Regions from separate parts of the Homo sapiens genome. Here regions 1 and 3 are each linked to region 2. Evidence: promoter capture Hi-C in 16 types of primary human blood cells and fetal thymus (Javierre and others, 2016). All regions are on one chromosome and are shown on one strand. Each heading gives the region's core, a stretch centred on a gene start or on the middle of the fragment in contact. The rest is flanking DNA. Distances are from core to core; before and after follow the strand shown.

Evidence for each region. The method cuts DNA at HindIII sites, captures the fragments that hold promoters and counts their contacts. A CHiCAGO score of 5 or more calls a contact.
Region 1: a contact is called between the fragment with the promoter of ZNF641 here and the fragment with the promoter of TMEM106C in region 2, in 8 of 17 cell types (non-activated CD4 T cells, neutrophils, fetal thymus and 5 more). The highest score is 11.7, in non-activated CD4 T cells.
Region 3: a contact is called between a fragment that was not itself captured here and the fragment with the promoter of TMEM106C in region 2, in 1 of 17 cell types (M2 macrophages). The highest score is 7.2, in M2 macrophages.

What each region holds. Positions count from the first base shown.
Region 1 is chr12:48,348,924-48,352,520 of GRCh38, reverse strand. ZNF641 (zinc finger protein 641) reads left to right here and starts at 1,602. Exons shown (of 6, transcript NM_001172681.2): 1 at 1,602-1,735. RefSeq lists silencers at 1,092-1,171, 1,452-1,881 and enhancers at 847-1,583, 2,022-2,091. The HindIII fragment of the contact is 6,093 bases long and covers 1-3,597 here.
Region 2 is chr12:47,962,322-47,965,810 of GRCh38, reverse strand. It overlaps TMEM106C (transmembrane protein 106C), which reads right to left and starts at 2,215. Exons shown (of 8, transcript NM_001143842.2): 1 at 2,107-2,215; 2 at 1,388-1,602; 3 at 466-529. The coding sequence starts at 1,574. The HindIII fragment of the contact is 3,638 bases long and covers 844-3,489 here.
Region 3 is chr12:48,453,830-48,457,455 of GRCh38, reverse strand. It overlaps a transcript of C12orf54 not described here. Among named protein-coding and RNA genes, the nearest start is that of ANP32D, 17 kb to the left of the region's middle. The HindIII fragment of the contact is 1,315 bases long and covers 1,348-2,662 here.

The DNA.
Region 1 (3,597 bases), core at 353-2,852, 390 kb before region 2:
CTTATCTGAGGGCCACAGATTTGACTACATTACCAAGGCCTCGGCATGGGAGAACCACCAAATGCAAGAAGCCTGGTCCTTCAATGAATTCAAGAAGTACAGACCCCACCCTCTGGCCCCAACCAACTTGTTACCACACTGTGACTTGTATGAACATAAGCCTTTATGGAGTTAAGCCCCGAGATACTGGTTTTGCTAGCCTACTCCAATTAACGCACCTTATATTTACCACCAGTGGTAGCATAAGTGAAAAGAACCCCTGGACTTAGTTCCAGGACCCGGGATAAAAATTCTGGCTCTACTACTACCCCGACATATCCCATGATCTGCTCCTAGAATATGCTCTATACTCTTCCCAACTGCGTGTCTACTGCATTTTCCTCTTTCATTAGACAGCCCTCCTGACTCTTCTCTGCCTCACGATTTCTGTCAGAGTGGGGGGCCTTCTCTGACCTCCGTCCCATACGTGGTCACTTCTCTTTGCTTCAAGTGCAGCGTACGTTCCTCTGTTTTAGAATCTACGTTTTTATTGCAAATATTTGTTGACATGTGCTTCCCCAGACTGTGAATCCTTTAACTCCCAGCATTTAGTTACAGTGTCTGGCACACGTAGAAAATAAATATGCATTAAACGAATGATTGTCACATATGACCTTAAGTGAGTCAATTATTTTTTAAGTCTACTAAATAAAATTTTTGAAAATTGTTGTAATGATGAAATAAGGAATGTGAATGTGACTTGTAGGTTATAAACAGATTCTAACAGCAATGGGTTTACTCACTGTTTGTAGGCCCTTCTCATCTTTTCTAGTCAAATCCATCTTAATGCTGCAAGGTAGCACTATCCAATAGAAATATAATGCAAGCCATATTTATAGCCACATTTAAAAAGTTAAAACCAGGTGAAATTAATTTTAATATATTTAACCCAATATACCCAAAATATCACTTTTTAAATTAAATCTTCTAAATCTTGGAACACATCTCTATTCAGACCAGCCACATTTCGAGAGCTCAGGTGTCACCTGCGGCTACGGCTCCCGCAAATGGGACAGCAGCCGCAAGGCCAACTTCAGATAGCAACCTGACTTCCCCTCAGGCAGAATAAGTGACTCCTCCTCAGTGCTCTCTCAAGCCCTTTATCCTATCGTGAAAACTAGAGGGTACGCTCCTTGAGGAATTCCAGACTGTTGTCTGGAGAAATCGCTCTCGGCCTCGGTCTGGCCTGTAACGGGCGGTTACGCAATTCCAGGTAATTGACGAACCCTGAGGACAGAACTCCGTGGGAGGCCCAGTAGCCAGAGCGGAAAATGGTCAGTCAGGCAAGAGTGCGGGCAAGTGGCCACAGCAGGCTGCGATTCCGGCGCCCGCCGCCCTCCAAGCGTCTCGGGCCGCACCCTCCCCACAGCGGCGGGCGCGGAGGTCCCGGGTTCGCGTTTGGGGGCGCCTGAGCCGCAGCCCCGCCCCCTCCCGTCCCTCCCTCCCTCCCTCCCTCCCACTCCTCTCCCTCCCACTCCTCTCCCTCCCACTCCCCGCACCTCCGCCGCCGCAGAGCCCCGGAAGCGGGCGGGGATTTCCTGTGCCCGCCCCGCCCCGCCCGCGCCTGCCGGGCCGCCGTCTCCGCCTGTCGCTGGCTCCGCCGGCCGCCGGCTCCCAGACGCAAGCGGAGGGCGGAGGGGAGGGGCAGGCGGCGCCCGGGAGGGAGGCACCGGGCCGCGGGCCAAGCCTACCGGGGGTGAGTGGAGCCGGGCCGGAGGGAGCTGCGGCTGGAGGGAGGGACGCCTGGCTTCCCGGGGCGGCTGGTGGGGGCTCGGTCACCCATAGGGGCTGGGAGGAGGATCGGCGCGTCTTCCGGGTTGCTGCCTTTCCCGGGGGTCTGCCCCGCTGACATTCTGTGCCCGCCTCTCGCCCTGTCTCCCCGTGCCCATCGCAACTGTCAGGCCCTGCGGGCTCCCGCCGCTGTCACTCGCGCACAGGTTACCCCGTGGCTCCCTTTCTCTTCACTTGCTCATGCCCCAGCTCATGGGAAACCTGTTTTCTGACCTCACTTCCCCTGCTCCAGTTCTGCCTTGCTCGGATTCTCTGAAATCTGACCCTTTCCAGGGGCACTGTGACAAGAAGAAGGGAAGAAGCAACCTTACCCCTGAGCAGGCTCCCGTCCCGCCCATGCCCTACCCGTGGCAGGGGCCAGGGTTCTCTGATGGACGGAGCCAACTCGTCCGTGTGCCCTTGGGCTACTCATTTTTATAACATGGCCCCTTTTCTGTTCATCAGCACTGGCTGCAGAAACTTCCTTTTGCAGGTCCCTTGCTACCCATATGTGTGAAGAAAAGGGGGAAATGAAAGCCCTAGAACCCACACTGCAGTGGGCATGGGATCATCCTGGAACCAGGAGAAACGAGGTTAGGGCTACCACCTTAACCGCCCAGGTGCTGGCTCTGCGTGAATATCTTAGGAAATGCAAGCTGAGGACAGGTACCCATCCCATCCTTTGCTGAGATTTTTGCTAGCACTTCCACGGATTTCTGTCAGTGGTATAGAAAAACTTACAGCTGGCCCAATGGGCTCTGCACAAAGAGGCTTCCCATTAAGAGACTCTGCTACCTGGGGGAGATGGAGAAAGGGTTTGAGACAAGTGTCCAGATATGTAGCTAGAGGTAAAGCCTTCAGGGAGGATTTGCACAGGAGCTAGAGAACCAGAAAGATGGGACGAAGAGGGAGAATTAGTGCCCTGTGTGTTAAAAGTGGATACAGAGCTGGAATTCAGAGAAGAGAGCTAAAATGGAAGTTTCCCTTTATTGCTTTAGCAAGAATTTTCCTTTCTCATGAAAAGTCTCTGAAAAGGAAACCTCCTAGGCTGGGAATCAGTCCAGGGTGCTCCCATGAGGCCCTGAGCCATCTTTGGACTTCTGAGATAAAAAGGGAATTTGTTTTTCCTGTGCATTGGGCTTAGGGTTCCCACCTACCTCTTTTGTCAAAGACAAATAGGCAAGAAAATAGACGACTTGACATCTGTGATTACCTACCCTGGCCTTCAAGGTTCTTGCAAGTGTTATTGAAAGGATGTAAGTAAGCCAGGATAGTTACCAAGTTTCTGACTGCTCTTGGAAGCCTTTCACTGACTCTGACTGTTTGGATATTGAATAAGAATACCCAAAATATGTTGCCAAACAGAAAGAGATTCTGAGTCTCAGATTATTTCTCTGCCATAAAGCCCTATCACAACAGAAGTGTGACCCATCCTGCTCTTAAGTTGTCTAAAGAAAAAGAAGAGCCCACTATCTGGTATTGTACACTGCAGGATTATTAAGAATTAAAAAAAAATAACCTAAATCTCTTCTCTTGCAATCAAGACCCATTTTTTTCTGTTTGACCTATATAGAGATAGAAGGGACCTCTGTTTTTATTCATTAGTAGCATCATTCATCAGCCTTCTTCTCCAGACAGAGAAAACTACATCCGACATTTTTAACTTTCCCAGTGGCTGTATTTCCAATCCCTTTCTTGACTTTGATGTTTTCTGATGAACACACACTGGCTTCACCATACGCTTCTTTCAAACTGAATATATTTTTCTAATGAGATCTGACTGGTGCC
Region 2 (3,489 bases), core at 966-3,465:
CCAGGCAGTCAGATATCAAGGTTCAATGTGTCAAGATTAAACACAAAACCAGGAAAGAGAAGGGAGCTGAAAGGGAAGTTCCAAGAGCCAGGAACCATAAACCAGTTAAGAAGCAGTGAAGCAGGAGAAACCTTTTAAAACTCCTTTAAACACTGTTTGCACTCTGGGAAGAAAAGCTGAAGAAAGGAGCTATGTGGACAGAGACAGTCCCACACCTCCCAGAACACTCCACTTTCCCAGTTTCTTCTGATTCCATTCCTTGACCTTCAAAGCATTTCCAGCTTCAAGTTTCTTTCCCCAGATTGTGATGGGGGCAGAGATATCTTGCTTGGGCAAACAGTTATAAGGAAAATGGGGAACTTATAAGAACATGTGTAGTTTTCAAAGAATTAACTGGCATTCATACATACAGAAAGAGATTAGGGACAGAAGTAGGTATTAACAGGTGAGAAGCAGGTAACTCACGTTCGCTGAGGGCGCAATCTCTGATCACTGTGTGGGATCAAAGCCACCAACTCATTTACTTGCTCTAGAAAAGAGCCAAACAATTATTTTGTAAATCCCATGTGTTGGCAGTACTTCCTTCACGTCTCACTTGAGCCTGCCACAACAAATATTCTTCTGGAATGAGACATTTTAAAAAATACTAGTGAAATTCACATGTTGGGTCTAATGAACAAGAAACAAGAGAGTGCCACAAATTATAAAACATCTATCAGTGCTGCCAGGGTAGTGATGTGGAAGTTGAAAAACCTGGGATCCTGTTCTGGCTTTACTGCATGGGCTTGGCAGAGTCGTCGAATCTCTCAAGGCCATGGTTTCCTTGCCTTTCATATGGAAGCTTTGGAGTAAATGATTTTGAAGGTCCTAACCAGCTCTAAATTTCTGTGACTCTCCAGCTAAACTGTTAAAGACTTTCTGAGGGCCAATTTGTTAATAGTAATAGATGATCCTGTACCAAGGCTAAGTATTTGTCTCTCTCTCTTGACCTGATATATTTTTCTGACCTTAGGCTGTTAAGGATTAGCTACCCATTTCCTTGAAAAGCAGCTTCCAAGATGGTTCCCCCGCAAAGCTGTCCCAATCCTTGTGACAGCGATAAAGAAATGTGCCTGTCAACAAATCCCACAACACAGAGCGAACTGAATGTTCCAAACCTCAGGAAAAGAACAAGAGTGGCGGTAAAGAAAAGAAAGGGTTGGAAAAATAAGGAGAGGAAGAGAAGTTGCAGAACTGCCCAAGTGTATTAAGTCAGTTGAGCTGGCTCCTGTCCAGGGCACTGTCTCTATTATGGTATTACTGCCTAGAAGAAAAGTTGTCTGGGCAGACAGGAGAACTCCGAGGGTACCTTGGGATTCTCATCAGGGAATCATCCCTCCATGATCACCTGTTGGAATGTAGCCTGTCCCCTGGCACGTGAGACAGGTGATGCTATCTCTCCCGGTGAATTCCACATATGGGAACTGAGCAATGGCTTCTTCCTGCTCTCGTTCAGCCAGCAAACCGTCCCTGTCATCTTCTTGCTTTCGCCTGCAGGAGGAGGGGCGAGCAGCAGCGGAATGCTGAGACCCCATGGCCGTGATATGCCACTGGTGTCATGTCCTAAGATGAAAAGAGGGAGTGCACGTTAGCGGCCCCAGTGAATCACGACAGAAATCGCTTGTTTCTATAAGAAAATTAAAAACGCAAAAATGACAAGTTGCCGCCCTGAGTGTGGTCCCAACACCTGTACGATTTCTATCGGGACCCTCATTTTGTAGTAGTGCTACCCACTCTCCTCTTACCCGCCACACACAGCCGGCGGGGGTGGGGAGGGGGAACGGGGCCTGCCTTTCACGCACCTGCCTCGATCCTCACCGCCCTGGGACTTGGGGCACCCCCGCTCCCACCTGGTCCAGCCTCGCCCCTTCCTCTTCACTATTTGTAAGCTCTATGCCCCTCCTCGAGCAACAAACAGGCACCAAATTGATAACCGGCCTTAACGATTCCCATTCCTCTCCACCCCCCAGCCCCAGGAGGCGGGCTCAGGTCACGCCCCTTGGCAAAAAGCGATGCTCTGAGCCCACCAAAGTGGCCCAGGCAGGAGCGAACGCCAGCGTCGCAGACCTGCAGGGCACGAACTCCCGGCAGCTCCTCTCCGGCCGCTCCCCCGACCACCTGCCAGCTTGAGGACTTACCAGCCTCTTCGGTCGGCGGAGCGGCACGCACTCAGCGCGCAGGCGCCAAATACCAAGCCCGCCAGGAGAACGCGGGCGCGCGCTCGCGCGTGCGCTCTTCGCGGCTCCGGAGGCCTTCCCAATATCGCAGCTGTCTGGCTCCCTCGGTTCCGGTAGAGGGCGGCAGAGAGCGCCGGGGAGCCGCGACCCTTGCTGTTGGGCCGCGGTAGTCCGCGGAGTCGGGATGATGCTCTGCTGTTCGCTAGATAGGCTGGGAAAGGCTCCAGTCAAGTTTCCAGAGCAAAACACTTCTCTGCTGCGAGAGGAGGAAGGTGCTGCCGGCTACCGAAGCCATTCTGAAATATTCTTTATAGTACAGGAGCTGTGTAGTCGCTGAGGGTACACACATGCGGAGCATTCGGATAAACTGCCTTTGCAAAAATTGTAAGTGAGAAAATTATGACAGTGAAAGAGATCTGACTTACCCAGTTCCGTCTTGCTTCTAACCTCCGAACTGCCCTTGTTCATTCCTGGGTATAGGCCAAACTAACTTTGGGAGGAATTTAGTTTATAGTTGAACTTCGAAGCAAAGATAACAGCCCTTCCCCAAAACAAACCCCCTTCTTGCCTGGGGACCAGACTGCCTTTGTAAGACTAACAAATTAGCCACAAGATTAGAAATTATGGTTTAGGAGTCATCCAGACAGAGGTCACAAGATTCCAAACCTTCCCTATTGCTCCAAGGGATAACATCACTATTGTAAAATCTAAGATCGGTGCTGGGGATATTTTTCAGACCCTGCATTCTGAGGCACCAGCTGGCAGTACCTAGACCAGTTATCTGGCTCAGCCAGTTCTGCAATCCCACCCAGGAACAGAAAACAGCAAGAAGAACCCACTTAGACCCCCCTATGATTTCATCTCCAACCTGACCAATCAGCACTCCCCACTGCCTGATACCTACCAGCCGAATTATCCTTAAAAAACCCCAGTCTCTGAATTATCGGGGAGACTTATTTGAGTGATAAAACTCTGGTATCTCATTCAGCCGGCTCTGCATGAATTAAAATCTCCATTGCAATTCCCCTGTCTTGATGAATCAGCTCTGGGCAACGGGCAAGGAGAACCCGTCCGGCAATTATATCAGAACCTGTCTTCAGTCCAGGAGGGGAACCCAGAGGCTTCATCAGACCCCTCCAATACTGTAGATAAAAGTGCTGCTGGAAGTCTCACAAGTCAGAGGGGCCCAGCCTGGGGGAAACCTTCCATGGGGAGTCCTGCTGGCTTCTCGCAGGAACGGACCCCACAGCTGAGCTTTGCAAGCCAATTAGGT
Region 3 (3,626 bases), core at 756-3,255, 490 kb before region 2:
AGGTTGAGGCAGGAGCATCACTTGAACCCATAAGGCAGAGGTTGCAGTGAGCTGAGATCAAGACATCACACTCCAGCCTGGGCCACAGAGTGAAACTCCATCTCAAAAAACAAACAAACAAAAAAACTAAACAAAAATAAAAAACCACCACCACCACCACCACCACCACCAACAACAACAACAAAAAACTGCTTGTTGCATTCATTTGGCACCAAGCTTACGGCCCATTCTTCTGAGTTCGGGCCTGGGGCCCTACGGTCACCTCTCACTCTATACCACCCCCAGCTTGGTCTGATTCCATTTAATTTCATAGTCTATGGATTACCCACGATGTGCTGGGGACATATTACACAGAGACCACATATTAATAGGGGAGACAGACACAAGTAACTACACACTAAACTTAATGCATGATTTAGGAGCTACAAAGTATCTAGAAACCACCAAGAAAGGAAAGATTTTAACAGTAGGATCACATCTAAATATTCAGCATCCTATGAAAGATTCTTGGCAGACTGGTCCTCATAATGGTGATAATATGCTTTCCTTGATTTGAAGATGCACACTTTTCGTACTTTGGTGTTTCTGAGATTCAGCTGCTTCTTACAATTGATGTGTGCATTTAATGTGGTTTATTCTGCTTGCCAAAGAAGAAAAAAGCTGATAATTAACAGATAGTTCAGTTTTTTCAACTGATGAGAACCTAGACAGAGGGAAATATATTAATAATAACACAGCACTAATGGGCTAGACAATATGCTAAATGTTATGTGAACATCTCATTTCATCCTCACAACCAACCTAACATGGAGAACAATTGTCAAAGCCATTTTCCAGGCAAAGAAACAAAGAGAAATAGCTTTCCCAAGGTCACGGCAGGCGAGGAGCAGAGTTGGGATTCAAATTTAACCCTCTTTGGCTCCAGAGTCCATGATCTTAATCTCAAATGCTACCTGTTCACATCTCTCTTCCTTTACTAAACTGGTTCCTCTGCCGGGAAGACTTCTGCCACTCCTCGTTCTAAGACTTGCTTCTCTAGATAAGGCAGGGTCAAATGGTATCTTTCCTGTAACTATTTCCCTGACCACTTGATACAGCTTGAATTTTTCCTCCTCTGAACTCCCATAGCAATCTTGTCACACTGGTAGAGTATAACTTACTATACTGCATTACAGCTGTCAGTATAACTTTATTCCTCATTACAGTGTGAGTGTCTTAAAGGCAGAGACTCTCTCCTACTCGTCTTTATATACCCAGGGCCCAATACAGTGCCTGGAAAACAATTGTTGTTGGCTGAGCTGCTTAAAAAATGTGTTTTCCCTACTTCGTTGAGATATAGAGAAAGCTTTACAGACTTTTAAATGATAATTTATTGAGTACAAACTACTGACATAATATTAGCTAAGAGCTTTATATGCTCTTATACTTTTTGTGAGAAGAAATGAGATAATCAGTGTAAAACACTTAAAATAGCGTATGGCACATGGTAAGGATTCAATCACGTTATTTTTTAATTATTATCACTATTTAACCATTGTGAAAATTCACTGAGTAGTTACTATGATTGTTAGTGTTCTATAAATAAGGCAACTGAGTAATAGAAGGCGAAGAAACTTATTCACTGTCAAACAGACAATGAAGGACAGATTTTGATCATTTATGTGTATGTATCAAATCTTACCTCATGGATACATTTTTCATAATTTTACACAGTGCAGGGGGTATCTCTGCCTGTTCTCTAGACTTCCAGTGCCTGTTAGCTCTTCTGTACAATCATGTTGGAGCTGCTCACTGATCTTTAGGTGCTGCTCAACTCCAGGTTTTCTTGTTATTTAAATCTTTTCTTCAGCCTCTCTGCTCCAAAACCTGGAAGATCTGAAAGAAAAACTTGGCTGAATATGGTTGTGTCTCTGACAAAGACTGCTGTTCTGCTGACGTTTCTCTGAGATCTGTAACAACTCTGTCTGCATCCCAAGCCATGGGTTTGGTGAGCTGCTTAAAATTGGCAGTCAAAACTCTGATTTGACCATAAAGACATATGTATGCATATGTTCATCACAGCGCTTTTCACAATAGCAAAGACATGGAATCAACCTAGATGCCCATTAACAGTGGACTGGAAAAAGAAAATGTGGTATATATACACCATAGAATACTATGCTGCCATCAAAAAGAATAAAATCATGGCTTTTGGAGCAACATGGATGCAGCTGGTGGCCATTATCCTAAATGAACTAATACAGGAACAGAAAACCAAATCGTGCATGTTCTTATTTATAAGTGGGAGGTAAACATTGAGTACACAGGGACACAAAGAGGAGAACAATAGACACTGGGGCCTACTTGAGGTTGGAGGATGGGATTGAAAAACTGCCTGTCTGGTACTATGCTCACTACCTGGATGATGAAATCATTTGTACACCAAACTCCAGTGACACGCAATTTACCCACATAACAAACCTGCACAGGTACCCTCTGAACCTAAAAGTTGGAAGGAAAAACAAACCCAAAAGGAAGCCCCTATGATTTGAAGAAACTTGCAGTAGTCAAAACTTGTCATTCTAAAGTTGAGCCACAAGGAAGCAGTAGTGTCCTAGCTGTAAGGTCTGAAGATGCTGGCATATTTATTCTAATGCCTTCCCTAGACTTACAACCTTAAGCTTTGCATATTTCATTTACTAAGTTACTATAGTTACCCAACAGTATTTGTAAAATATGATACTTGGAATTTATGTTACAAAGAAATAATTTCAATCTTAAAAAGAGAGTCAAAGTATAATTTTGCATTTTTCTTTTAACACTTATTTTATGCTGCATAACTTTCCTCTGAGGCTGCATTAAATAAAGAAGGAAAGAGATAGAGAAGAAGGGGCAGGAGGACAGAAAGCAGGCCACAGGCTTTATTCTTAGCAATCAGACCTGCTCAGGCAAACCCCACATCTCCTAGGCCTTTCTAATCTGCCTGCAGTTTGTGATAGTCTTCATCTTTTTTCTATGTCAGGTAAAAATGACTATGCAGCCTGTCCAATCTGATTAATCGAATTAAAGAACAGTCTTGGCCGGGTGCGGTGGCTCAAGTCTGTAATCCCAGCACTTTGGGAGGCCGAGGTGGGCAGATCACGACGTCAGGAGATGGAGACTATCCTGGCCAACATGGTGAAACCCTGTCTCTAGTAAAAATACAAAAAAAATTAACTGGATGTGGTGGTGTATGCCTGTAGTCCCAGCTACTTAGGAGGCTGAGGCAGGAGAATCACTTGAACCCAGGAGGCAGAGGTTGCAGTGAGCTGAGATCGCACGACTTCTCGCCAGCCTGGCAACAGAGTGAGACTCCGTCTCAAAAAAAAAAAAAAAAAAAACAAACAAAAAAAGAGAGAGAGAGAGAGAACTGTCTTGATTTTCCTTCCTATAATTTAGAGCCCCTGATTTATTTTTCAACAATAACAGGAGTTCCCTGACCTCATGGTATCCTGATGCTCCAAAGTTACAGAAGGCTTCAAGTACAATGAATCTAAATCAAAAGAAGGCACTTCTTTTTTCAGTTTGGTTGAGAAGTAAAATATCACCTTCTTTGTTTTCTCAAGGTCAGAATAAATGAGCTGTGAACGATTACATGTATATGGATA